Linked DNA regions of Homo sapiens: region 1 is linked to region 2. The links are contacts of gene promoters, found by promoter capture Hi-C in human tissues and cell types (Jung and others, 2019). All regions are on one chromosome and are shown on one strand. Each heading gives the region's core, a stretch centred on a gene start or on the middle of the fragment in contact. The rest is flanking DNA. Distances are from core to core; before and after follow the strand shown.

Evidence for each region. Contacts are between HindIII fragments. The study calls those that stand out against the background at their distance.
Region 1: a fragment that was not itself captured here is called in contact with the fragment with the promoter of DIP2C in region 2 in 4 of the 25 tissues and cell types used here (H1 embryonic stem cells, IMR-90 fibroblasts, bladder and 1 more).

The regions. Positions count from the first base shown.
Region 1 is chr10:411,012-417,487 of GRCh38, reverse strand. DIP2C (disco interacting protein 2 homolog C) reads left to right here. Exons shown (of 37, transcript NM_014974.3): 7 at 1,600-1,719; 8 at 3,378-3,575. Among named protein-coding and RNA genes, the nearest start is that of DIP2C-AS2, 210 kb to the left of the region's middle. RefSeq lists an enhancer at 767-1,966. The HindIII fragment of the contact is 5,876 bases long and covers 1-4,742 here.
Region 2 is chr10:685,688-692,338 of GRCh38, reverse strand. It overlaps DIP2C (disco interacting protein 2 homolog C), which reads left to right and starts at 2,671. Exons shown (of 37, transcript NM_014974.3): 1 at 2,671-2,845. The coding sequence starts at 2,761. RefSeq lists an enhancer at 1,361-2,296. The HindIII fragment of the contact is 17,538 bases long and covers 1-6,651 here.

The DNA of each region.
Region 1 (6,476 bases), core at 555-3,054, 270 kb after region 2:
TTTTCCTGGAATGCCTTTTGGTGTCATTATTTGCTTTAGTTCTCTGATGAGTTCGTCTTTACTAAATTGGCCATTTTTGTTATTCTTGTCATTTTAGTAACTTTGTCGTCTTTCAAGTCTGTACCTTTGCCTTTGTTCCCCAGGTAAATCCTGCGTGGTGTGTTGTGCTGTCTCGGCGTGTCATAGCCTCCCACACCAGAATCCCACAGGGGCCCTTGCTGGGAGGGTGATTCTGGGTCACACCCCAGACGTCATGAGCTAGAAGTTCGGGGGTCCCTGAGGCAATTCTGACATCTGCCAAATTAAGCTTGAGAATCGTTGGCCTGGTGGAATGGTATGATTCATCTGAACCAAATTAGTTGGGCTATTTAATGGGAACATACTATGTGTGGATATTGAGAGTTCTGGATTGTGTGTTTTTCTGTATTTTCAGAGATATGAAATATTTAATGTCTCAATTCTTAAAGTGCTATAGAGCATTTTGAGACTACCTATTAAAAAATCTTGATAGAAAAAATTTCCTTGAATTCTGTTCTATTCCCCGCAAATGTTGAAGTCTGTTTTTTATGGTCCAGTGCGGGGGCGAACAAGGGCTCTGCCTCAGGTGAGGGGAATGGACTGCCAGCTGCACCTACAGAGACCCCTGCACCGTCCAAGCCCACAGCTCTGGGTGATGGTTTCCCAGGTCCTGCCGGCCTGCAGCGTGTGCCTGAGGAGGACGCTTTTGATCTAGTTGTGGCATCAGCGTCTTGGTCCTCTGTCTTGTTCATTTGATTTATTTATCTTAAAATTTGAAAACCTTGACTCTTTCATTGATCAAACCAGTTGATTTTCAGAATGGTGCAGCATTCATTATAATTAGCACAGTATTTTAAAATGGGGCTTTTCTCGGTCCACTTGGATAGGTAGGGGCTAGTATTCTGTTACACAAAAATTTGAATTTAGAGACTTTAACTTCTGTGCTTTAGGATGCATTGCCTGTGTGTGGGCTGAGCTGCGTGGGTTTGGAACGCGTGTGAGGAGCTCAGTCTTTATTAGGAGTGGACAGGGCTTGGGCGTGGTGGTGCTGAAACCTGAGCCCGGGGCTGTGGGATGCTGGGGGTTCCAGACGTGACTCAGCGGCCCGATGTTCTCGTGCCTCCATGAGGCTGAATGCTGGTGTGAGGCTGAATGCTGGTGGTCTCTGGAGAGATAGACGCAGGGAAGGACTTACTGCTCCACGGATGGTCTCACCCTGTTGAGAAGAGGGGGCCTGGGGCAGTGGGAATGAGGAGTCTGCCCTCTGCAGGTGACAATTCTGTCCTGAGAATCAGAGCTGGGGTCAAGCAGGTGTGGCCCTGAGGCTCCTCCCAGCATGACCAGCAGAACAGCACATCCTGGAACGTGGTAGACATTCGGGTCCGATGTATCTCTGTCCGGTCTCCTGCCTAGCCACGGGGCTACCGTACAGCATGATCACCTCGGGCCCTTCCCAGGATCGCATCTAGGATGCAGCCTGTTGTAGCCGCGCTGGGGAGGGGGCTGTGGGACTGTGGGACTGTGGGTGCTCATTGAAGCTGTGATGATCGCTTTCCCCACCCGCTGATTCCTGTTTTTCAGGAGTACCAGTAAGTAGCCGGGTGTCAGCAAAAATCCAGCAGCTTGTCAATACCCTCAAACGACCGAAACGACCACCTTTACGAGAATTCTTTGTCGATGACTTTGAAGAATTATTAGAAGGTGAGAGAACTCTTTACCACACGTTTCTTCCAGATGCTCCTATGGTCCCGTAAACAATGATATTTTTTTCTGCAAGGCTATTTTACTTTTTAAGAGCAGTAATCGTGGCATTTGCCGCATGATGGGAACCCAGGTAGGGAGCGGGTGATGTTCCCAGGCAGCCTTGGTGTCGGCAGGTCTCTAAACCTGGTTGTTAGTCGTCCTCTGTGGGAGTTGATTTTGTTCTGTGACCCAGGTCAGGTCTCTCTCTAAGAACTCTGTAAGAGTATAGAAATACAAGTAAAGTATAAACATGTAGAAAAACAAGTAAACTGGGGAAATCCTTCGCTGGCAGCAAAACTGGCGTGTGAAGTGCTGTCTCCTCCCTCCTCCTGCTGCCTCTCCTTATAGGTGCCGGAGCTGCTGCCTTTGCCCCTGAATGCTCCTGGGTCTTTTTAGACAAACAACTTAAAGTTGAAATAAAGCACAAGAACTGCTCATTGTAGCAAACTTGAGCTCCTTAGTATCTTATGTGTTAAACCACAAGTAGAAACGACTGATTTTGTCAGTCATAAAGTGACAGACAAGTCTGTTCCAGAAATGGAAGAGATAATTTCCATTCTTCACCTCTCTCAAGGATTGGGCAGGTGGTATTTATGATGCACTGATTTTAGTTTTACTCAGGAAAATACTCACTCCGTGTTCCTGTTATTCAGAGTACTTGTAGCAGATTTAAATGTACAGCTCAGGCCAGGTGCGGTGGCTCATGCCTATAATTCCAGCACTGTTGGAGGTCAAAGTAGGCAGATCACTTGAGCCTGGGAGTTCGAGACCAGCCTGGGCAATATGGCAAAACCCTGTCTCTACCAAAAAAAAAAAAAAATATATATATATATATACACACACACACACACACACACACACACACACACACACAAATATATATGTGTGTGTATATATATATTGCCCAAACCTGTCTCTACAAAATATATATACATTTTATATATATATACACATTATATATATACACATTATATATATATATATGTACACACACACACACACACACACACACACACACATACATACACACTCTAAAATTAGCTGGGCGTGGTGGTGCATGCCTGTAGTCCTAGCTACAGGCTAGGACTGTAGCAGAGGCTGAAGTGGGAGGATAACCTGAGCCTGGGAGGTCGAGGCTGCAGGGAACTGTGATCATGCCACTGCACTCCAGCCAAGGCAAAAGAGAGAGACCCTGCCTCAGAAAATATATTTATCATTAATCTTTCAGGACAAAATATAATTTAGCAAGATTTAAGCAATTTGGGGTCCAAAATCACTAGCTGATGTTGGTAATGGAAATTTCAGCATGGCTGTTTGAATTCCAGCCTCTGGGCACAGTGTGCAGCGCAGTTTCCACCTGTTATCAGTTTGCAGCTGTGTGCAGGTCCACCTAAGCGCTCTACCCACATGCTGCCTTGGAAATTACAAGAACTAATTTTTTACCAGCATCCGTGATGCTAGTGTATAGACCCCAATTCTAGAAAAGCATGCTTTTCTGTCAGCTAATAAATGTACAGCTTAAGTATAAATCTCTTGGCTTCTTTATAAAGAATAAAAAGTAGCCATGCTAATGTGGATGCATTTCTCTTGTAACCTCTTGTATTCAAACGATTTAGTTCAACAACCGGATCCGAACCAACCAAAGCCGGAGGGGGCCCAGATGCTGGCCATGCGCGGAGAGCAGCTGGGCGTGGTCACGAACTGGCCGCCGTCGCTGGAGGCCGCACTGCAGAGGTGGGGCACCATCTCGCCCAAGGCGCCCTGCCTGACCACCATGGACACCAACGGGAAGCCCCTCTACATCCTCACTTACGGTAATCCCCAGGCTCACTCTCTGCCCTTTGCCCACCCCCTCGCACAGCCACTCCCGAACGCAGGAAACTCAGTGTCCGTTTACATCCTCACTTAAGGTAATCCCGAGGCTAACCCTCTGCCCTTTGCCCACGCCCTCGCGCAGCCACTCCCGAACGCACGAAGCTCAGTGTCTGTTTAAATCCTCACTTAAGGTAATCCGGAGGTTTACCCTCTGCCCTTTGCCCACCCCCTCGCGCAGCCACTCCCAAACACACAAAGCTCAGTGTCTGTTACTTCTGGTGACTGATTGATTTTGTGCTGCCTTATGTTTCCGCACAGAAATAAATGGAATCTCAAGAAACTCTTTAGGAAAACTATTTGATTTCAATATAAAAAGTTATTTGTTAAATATTTTTTGAGTTAAAACCAGAAATGGCTGCTTGAAGCAGTGACCATAGCTCTAATAAGATGTTAGATCTTAAATACATGTGTGATTTATTGAAATGCATGCTTTCAGCAAAGATTGGTAGTTAGAAAAAATGTCTATCTAAACTTTCTGGTATGTATCACTCAGAAAAATCAAAATCGGTTTCCAAGGGACTTTTTCAGAAGGCCAGAGAAACCGCCTTTCCCTTAAGTCTTCAGTACAATTAATACAGTCTGTAAGCTTTTTGCACATGGTTAACGGTAGCAGAGAAGTGCGTTTCTCTTTTTTCTGTGGATAAGAGGCCATGGAGGGGCAGATTGTCAGGCTATTTTCTGTCTGCTTCAGCTTTACAAAGAAAGTAGTAACTAAAAGGCTGGCATGATGGCTCATGCCTGTAGTCCCAGCTGCTTGGGAGCTGAGGCAGGAGGAGGAGGTCGAGGCTGCATTGAGCTATGATTGTGTCACAGCACTCCAGCCTCAGTGACAGAGCAAGACCCCATCTCTAAAAAATTAATCAGTTAGAATTTTCAAAAGATACGAAAATAACTGAAGGACCAAAATGGTTCATATTGTGTCTGCATGTCTGAGATTTATGTTGATAGCTGAAATTTTAAACATAGCTGTTTCAGTTCTAGACTCTTGGGATAGTACAGTACATAGTTCCGCCTGTTGTCAGTTGGCAGGTTTTGTTTTTAACTTTAGCTTTTGTTGTTACAACACTTTTCTGATTGCAGGTAGGAAAGGAATTGATTTCTACATTAGCCATGGAGGTCAAAAGCCAGATGCTATGTTGAACCGTGGAACCTCAGACCCTAGCCTTTCAGGGTGGGGCTCTGGGAGGCAGCAGCTGTCAACCTGTGCATCTCAGGACAGATGTGGGATTTGGGCCTAGGAGCATATTGGGTTTGGGAGCGTGCGTTTCGTAGCCCCTTTGCTTTTATGGCTTCATTGAGTAGTTTTAAATGGACAGTGTGTGGCATCCATGATGAAGCATAAACTTTATTTTTTTAATTATGCTCTCAGAAATAGGTTTTATTGAGTCAAAAGCATGAAAGACTTTTCTATGTGACCCTCATCTCCGGCCAAATTCAGCCCTGGAGCTAATTGTGTACTTGGAGTCGCTGCTGCATGACAGCTGATGGCCTCTGAGGCCTCCCCGCCTACATGCGGGGAATTCCAGGAGCAGCCGAACTGTTCGGGTGCATGTGTTCACTCTGAGAACTAATAGACGTTCACTTGGGTGTTTTAAGCATGCAGTATGCATTGGCACAGAACTAAGCTTTGGGAAATCAAAGACAATAAGACACAGTTCTCACGGGGCTTCTGATGTCGATCAGAAGGATCGCCACTCTCTGCTGCTGGAACTTTGAACAGGGTTGGTGTCTTTCCCCTTCCTGCAAGGTTAAGATGAATGGGAGACGTAAGACACAGACTGAATATTCATATGAAAAGTTGGATTCTTCAGAACTCATGCCCACAACCAAAGCATTTTAACTCCTTTATATGTTGTATTTTAATCATCTATATGTTGTATTTTAATTATCCATTTTAATTGCAGGCTGTGGGTTGATCTTGGTTTTTACTTGTTAAAGGAATGTAAGAAAGCAACACATTTCCAAATTTAAGATTACAGCTTATCAGATGAAAACGCAGTGAACACTGGAAAGCGCCATCTGCGTAGAAACGCTAACGTAGATGAACGCATGACTGGGTGTTGCTACGATGAGTCAGAAACAAGCTCGTCGAATGAGAATTGTTCTAATACTGAGTGATTTGGTATCGAATGAGAATTGTTCTAATACTGAGTAATTTGGTATCGAATGAGAATTGTTCAAATACTGAGTAATTTGGTATCGAATGAGAATTGTTCTAATACTGAGTAATTTGGTATCGAATGAGAATTGTTCTAATACTGAGTAACTTGGTGTAACTGAAGGGGCTGTATTCTCTAAAGTCCTGCCGTTTCCCCTCAACCCCCAAATTTAGCTTCCTACGAAGCGCTGGGGTAGCAGAATTCCCAGCGGATAAACTTGGGATCAGTAACAGAAAGTGTAGGTGGCTAATGAAAGCCACAACTGAATAAACTTGTAAAACATCATTCTGTTTTCCACTTTAGACTACCCGTGGCATTTCATAATCTTAATAAAAATAAGTCACGCTGTGCTGTTAATTTCCCTTCACGTCCTGCCTCACAGCAGCTCTCTGGTACGCTCTTCCTCTGCCTCCTCTGTGGATTTCTGGAGAGACCTATACGTTCATCTGGCTTTCCTACCAAGGAGATGCTCATGCTCATCTCCCTTTTAACGTTTTATTTATGGTTTTCCTTTTACTCCAGATGTTTCAAGAAATCTACATGCTTGAGCTAGCAGCACGCTGGGCCACCTTTCTGTGGCCTTGCTGCTTTTTTGCGTGGTTGATGGTGTCTCTCTCAAGCTCCCGCCTCCTTCCCGGGCTTGCTCCGGTTCAGCCCTTCGCCACCCACCGCCTCTCCCCT
Region 2 (6,651 bases), core at 1,422-3,921:
TCTATCAGGCTCCTGGAAATGGCAGTCTAAGACCGAGAGCCCACACTCACACGTGTAATGTGTAGGTGCCCAAAGACCTGCTGAAAGGAACCATCAGCTCAAAATCTGAGTTTGCAATTGATGTGTTTAATGCAAATTACAAGTTTTCTTTGCAACCAACATCAGTCATAGGATCATATGCAAATGATTAAGGCCCATCAAAAAGAATATATATATATATATATATATATATATATATGTATTTTTTTTTTTGAGACTGAATCTCGCTCTGTCACCCAGGCTGGAGTGCAGTGGTGCGATCTCGGTTCACTGTAACCTCCACCTCCCGGGTTCAAGTGATCCTCCTGCCTCAGCCTCCTGAGTAGCTGGGACTACAGGTGTGTGCCACCATGCCCAGCTAATTTTTTGTAGTTTTTAGTAGAGATGGGGTTTCACCATATTGACTAGGCTGGTCTTGAACTCCTGACCTCATGATCCACCTGCCTTGGCCTCCCAAAGTGTTGGGATTACAGGTGTGAGCCACCGTGCCTGGCCCGCGAATATATATTTTTTATTCCGACATTATACCGCCCTAAATGGACTTGACACCATTTATTGCTTGGAATGCACAGTGCATCTTTGCTGTAATGAAATGAACTCAGGGCTTTGCTTTGGAGACTGGGGTTTGAATCCTGGTTCTGCTCCCCTTTCTGTCTCTAAGGACTTTTATCTGTGACGTGTAGGGGCTGTGTGGGATCTTCCCCACGGCCCCTGCATTGCTGGTCGGTCTCTTTATCATGCAAAGGGGAGAGATGATGGTGGGGCCACATGCTTGTGCCACCCGTATCTGTTGCATTGAACGCAGTCTGGAGCGAAGGACGAACCCACGGCGCACACCAGGCGGAGGCACACGGCTCGGCGCAGGAAGCACACGGGTTTGGGGTTCCTGTTTCCCAGCTCATCGTCGAATGTCATTCTCACAATTCCCCACTGAAAGGACCGATCCTTACAGGAAATGCACACACCTCTGGCGGTTGCCACCACTGCTAGATCCATGGGAAGGGCAAAGGTGGGTGAGGCATGGGCTCTGTCCTCCAGGCGCTTACACTCACAAAGAATACAGAGAAGATAAAAAAGGTCAAACGTGATGAGGGCGGGAAGTGGCCGGTGCAGGAAGAGAAAGGAGAGAGATTGTTCTGGACCTGGGGTCAGGGATGGCTGTGGGTGGCAGGGGCAGAGAAGGGGCAGGCTCTCCGGGGTGGAGGCCGGGAGCAGAGGTGCTGCGGGTCAGCCGCGTTGTTTGCAGGAGCCGGAGTGTGGAGGCCGCAAGGCTGCCGTGCAGGTGGGTCCCGGCTGGTGGGGGCTCCGGTCGAAGCGGGGTGGGGGGGTGGTGGGGGGTAGGGGTAGGGGGGTGAGGTGGGGGACCTGTGTTCCTGCGGCCCACTCTGAAAGGGGAGTGAGTGCAGCTGGGCCTCCGGGAGCCAGCGCTGGCCAATGTCCCGTGGAGGACGGGGAGGCGAGGAGGTCTTTAGGAAGCTCTGGGCCTAAGGGAGGGGCCGGGCTGGGAAGAGGGGGTACAAGGATGAAAAGGAGGCCAGGTCGTCGGGGCTTTGTGCAACAGACTGGGGAGGATGTGTGGAGACAGAGGAAGGTGATGATGAAGACAACGGGGGCGGTTCTGAGAAGCAGAACTTCCAGTGACTAAGAGTCACTGGAAGCAGCTGGCTTCATTTAGGGTTTGTGGCGTTTGGGGTGTCTAGGGGCTTCCAGGGAAGTTTGCTCAGTGGACGGTTGGAGATGCGAGGGCCTCCCCAGATGGTCAGGACTAGAGGCACAGACGGGGCTTCAGCCTCGCCGAGGTGGCACTGAGGCTGGGAGCTGATGGCCCCACAAGGAGAAGGACGGTGGGAACCCTGGGGCCTGCAGCCTGTTCCGGGAGGGCTGGAGCCAGGCTTTTCGGGCCCACCTGGCATTTGGAGATTAGGTGACCCAACCTTGTCTTCCCATCCCCTTTTCACAGATGGGGACACTGACCCTCCAGGCAAAGGCTCAGAGTCGCTCAAGGTCATCTGCTGGTCGTTGCATTCGAAACTTCCAGCCTAGCGCTCCGTCTCCGCCTCTTAAAATGTTCATTAACAAAAAACCAGCCCTCCAAGACCCGGGGCACTGCGAGTTTTCGCGCAGACGTCAAGCTGCGGCTCCAGGACGTGATTTTCGCAGGGAGCCGGGTGGACCAGGCTCTGGGGCCGGGCCCGCAGGCTCCGCTGGACGCGCAGAGCCCAGGACAGACAAGACCGCCCCGCCCCGCCCCGCCCCGCGGGCCCCGAGCCCCCAACCCGCCCCCGAGCGCGCCCCCGGGAGCGCGCGCTTCGCCGACGCGGCCGCGCGCCCCCCCGCGCGCTCCCGCTCCTGCGCGTCCTCGCGCCCCGCGCGCGCGCGCCCTGCCCCCGCGGCCCCGTGACGCGCGCGCGCAGAGACGCTCCCGCCGGGCCGGGGCCGAGAGCAGCAGGGCCGGGTCCGGGTCCGCAGCGCCTGCGGGGAGGGGCCGAGCGCGCGCGGGGCGGGCCGGGGACCGTGGGGCGCGGGGGCGCGCGAGGCGGCCGTGGCGGGGCCGCGCTGAGGAGGCGCCGAGGGGAGGGAGGTCCCTGCGCGCCCGCCGCCCGCCTCCCGCGCCCGCGCCGCCGCCTCCTCCTCGGTGCGGTTCCGCCGGGCGCGAGGAGCCGCCGAGACCTCCGCCTGCGAACAAAGAGGAGGCCGTGCGGGGCGCGGCGCCCGCGGAGCATGGCGGACCGCAGCCTGGAGGGCATGGCGCTGCCCCTGGAGGTGCGGGCGCGCCTGGCCGAGCTGGAGCTGGAGCTGTCGGAAGGTAACCGGGCCCCCGCCCCGGGCCGGGCCGCGCTGTCACCGGGGAGGGCCGCGCGCGGAGGGCTGGGGGCGCGGGGCCTGCGGCGGGGCGGGGGCCGGGCCCGGAGGGGGAGGTGCGACCCCAGCCCGGAGCGTGCGCGTCCCCCGGACCCCCAGACCCCGCGCCCTAGGGACGTTTGTGAGGCCGCGATCCCCCGCGCTCTGGGGACGTTTGTGGGGCCGCGATTCCCCGCGCCCTGGGGGTGTCTGTGGGGCCTGGGATCCCCTCGCGCTCTGGGGGTGTTTGTGGGGCCGCGATCCCCCGCGCCCTGGGATGTTTGTGGGGCCGCGATCCCCCCGCGCCCTGGGGGTGTCTGTGGGGCCTGGGCGCCGCGCGGGGACGCAGGATGCAGCGGGCCCGGCGGGATCGGCCTTCCCGTGCGCTCTGCGCTGGAGCCGCGGCGTCCTTGGTGCAGCAGCGCGGTGCGCGCCACCTCCTCGCTGGCGGGTTCGGCCTGGAACGCCCGGCCAGATTTCAATGCGAAACTTGTCGTTGGACCCCGGGTTCGATCTCTGGTGGCTCAGGCCGTGCAGCGGTCCTGGCGCGGCCCGGGGGATCCCACCCCCATTGTTCGCGGGCGCTGCGCGGGGAGGGCTGGGCGGAATCGTCAACCTCCCCCCGGGCCGGGCTCCGGCCTTGCCGTCCTGGTCCTCTCGTAGGAGGGTTTGTGGCAGATCAGCCACCGCGGTCTTATGGAGGGTTGTGTACGCCTCTTATTTGCTCTTCATGGCGGAGATCATGTGCTCAACTGTCATAAGTTTCAGATCGGGCTTTGCCAGGTCTTTTCCCCAAAACCACTGAAGTTCCCAAATCTGAAATGTTTGATGTGCATTTAGCCGTCTCTGGGCTCATCCTGGTCAGGCCATTCCTGTAACGTGGGGTGGGGTGGGGGTGGGCCGGCGCGTCTCACATTTATATTTGGAGCAGTTTAGCATGGTGAACTTTTTTTGGGTAACGGTTTTGTGAGGGCCGGCAGCCAGAAAGTAAACTCATTCGTGCCAATTTTCACCGGCAGGGAGGAGCTGGTGTTGACTTTATGTTTTCCTTTTTAACACTTTCAGGGCAAAGAAGGGAGTGAGCAGGGGCCATGGTGTGCAGCCAACTGCCTTTCCAGACTTCTGGGGACGGGAAATGGTACTGTTTTTCAGTTTCAGATGTGGGGTTCCGCGAGGTGTGTCAGTGTCCTGTAACGTGACACAGTTGGCGGGGGGCAGAGTCTTCCAGGCCTGTGGGCTTGGCTGCTGCCCTCCTGAGGAGCTGAGGATGAGGAGGGCATGGCTAGGAGGCGGGAGCTGCCGTGTGCAGGGTTCGGATGTAAACTGGTAAGTAGATTGTGCAGTGCAGACAGCTCGTTTGGTGGGTAAGGAGTGTATCATTTGCAAAAGGCCCACCCTGGTTATCTGATTGTGTCAGCCTTGGGTAGGTTTCCCGGCTTGCGTCTCGGCCCAGGTGCACCCCTGCCTGCAGCACCCTCCGTGTTCGCTGTCTCAGGACAGGGGCTTCTGTGCTGCCTGCATCACACTGATGTGAAGTGTCAGTGCCCCATCCAGGTCAGCAGAGCGTAGCGCCCCTGAGCTCAGCAGGGCGAGCCCCATCTGAGGGTTCCCCCACCCACTGCTAGCCCAGAAGTTGGACCCACATTTGTTCCCAGAGTCTGGGATGTCTATGGGAATGGGTGTCCTGTGTTGGGCATTGTGGCCTTTTGAGGTGACGACACTTGCCTGTCAGTTGCTCTTGGAGGGTGAGTGATACTGTCTTGCTGCCCAGATGATGGCAAAGCCACTTTCGACGAAGGTGTGCTCAGCCGAATTCCCTGTGAACACCTTGCGTCTGTACAGGTTTTTTAAAAAGGGCTTAATGAGTTAGTTTCTTATTGAGAGACCAGGCAGAGAAAGGGGTGTGTGTGTTTGCATGCAGGAAGCCTAATTATATTTTTCCTTCCACATGAATCTTGCTGAGATCTGAGCTACACATTTAAGAAGAAAGGGTGAGAGGGTTGCTCCGTGGCTCTATTCAGCCTCTCTGCACCCTCCGGCCTGTGCTGGCCCCACTGCCTCATCTGTTTGCTGGATGGTCTTTAACTTTGCTGTGAAGTGTGGGTTTGCCCAGGTTGAGTTTATGGGGGTAGTGCTGTAAGGTCATTTGGAATTCTCTGTCTCATAACCACATAAAACAGTTTTACAGGCTTAAATTAGATGAATCAACTTGTTTTCCAGTATTGCTTAATAGAAATCCAAGAATTGAAGGATCAAAATTCTGTGTTTCTTTATGTTATTGGACTTCAAAAATTCCTCAATGTATCTGCTTTCAGAGTGAAAGCTGAAAACAGCTGTTAATGCTGAATTATTTCCCATCTTCAATCAAAATTCAAGTGGAGAGAATTCTTTAAGTTGGTTGTCATCATTTTATTAAAATATCAGAAAATATTATAGAAACATATGTGGAATTTCCAGTGCTCATTTCCTACAGAGGAGGATGGAAAAAGTTCCGTTTTAAGCACATAACATAGACTGAAGGAAAGAGTAGAGCATTCCCCTGAGGTTCCTGTGTGGGCTGCCAGCCTGCGTGGGTTACGCATTGTGTGGGTTTCTAGACCCTGGTCCAGTTCTGCTGTGCCCGCCTGCTGGGCGCCATTACATGCACTGCTGGTGTCCTGCTTTGCAGGGCTGCAGGGGCACTTCCTGCTGCGGGGCCGAGGGCTCCATCCTTCTTCCACTGCCTGTCCCTGTCCCGTGCCCTGTGCCCCCTCACAGGGGAAGGTGAGGCCAGCTCACACCACAGAGCATGCGGCCAGCAAAACACAAGGGCTCTCTGTGGGGAGAAGTGCTGGGCAGCCCTCTTGTGGGAGCTGATGGCCTCGAATCCATGTGGGGATACATTCAGGTTGTGTGGCCAGGGGGGTCATCTCCTCACATACTTGGGTCTGAGTGTGAGCCAGGGAGGAGGCCATGCAGGTAAGGAGGCCACACGGTCAGGAGGCTGTGTGGGTGGGGAGGTTGTGCGGGTGGGGAGGCTGTGTGGGTGCGGAGGCTGTGCAGGTGGGGAGGCCATGAGGGTGCGGAGGCCCCTCGGGTGAGGAGGCTGTGCAGGTGGGGAGACCACGTGGGGGGAAGGCTGTGCTAGTGGAGAGGCCCCGCAGGTGGAGAGGCCGTGAGGGTGCGGAGGCCCTGTGGCTGAGGAGGCCCTGCAGGTGAGGAGGCCATGAGGGTGGGGAGGCCTCCAGGTGATCTGGAGCTCCATTCTGGGGAGGGTCAAGGAATGAGAGGGCTGTGGCGGCTGCTTTCTCATACTCCTTTCCCCAGAATATTTTCTTCTCCCTTCTCTTCCCTACATTTTTGCCCTTTATAATTGGGTATTCTTTTTTGTGGCTTTAAAGGGCCTAAAAATAATTTCATTAATAACTGATACTTTACATGGAATTGCCAAACAAATTGGAGTGGAAGCAGAAAACTTCCCCATAAAGACAAACTCATGTCTTATTTATTTTTTAATTTTTGAGACGGTCTCACTCTGTCTCCCATGCTGGAGTGCAGTGGTATGAGCTCAACTCACTGCAACCTCCGCCTCCTGAGTTCAAGTGGTTCTCATGCCTCAGCTTCTTGAGTAGCTGGGATTACAGGTGCCCGCCACAATACCTGGCTAATTTTTGTACCTTTGTAGAGATGGGGTTTCATCATGTTGGCTAGGCTGGTCTCGAACTCTTTACCTCAGGTGATCCGCCCGCCTCGACCTCCCAAAGTGCTGGGATTACAGGCATGAGCCACTGT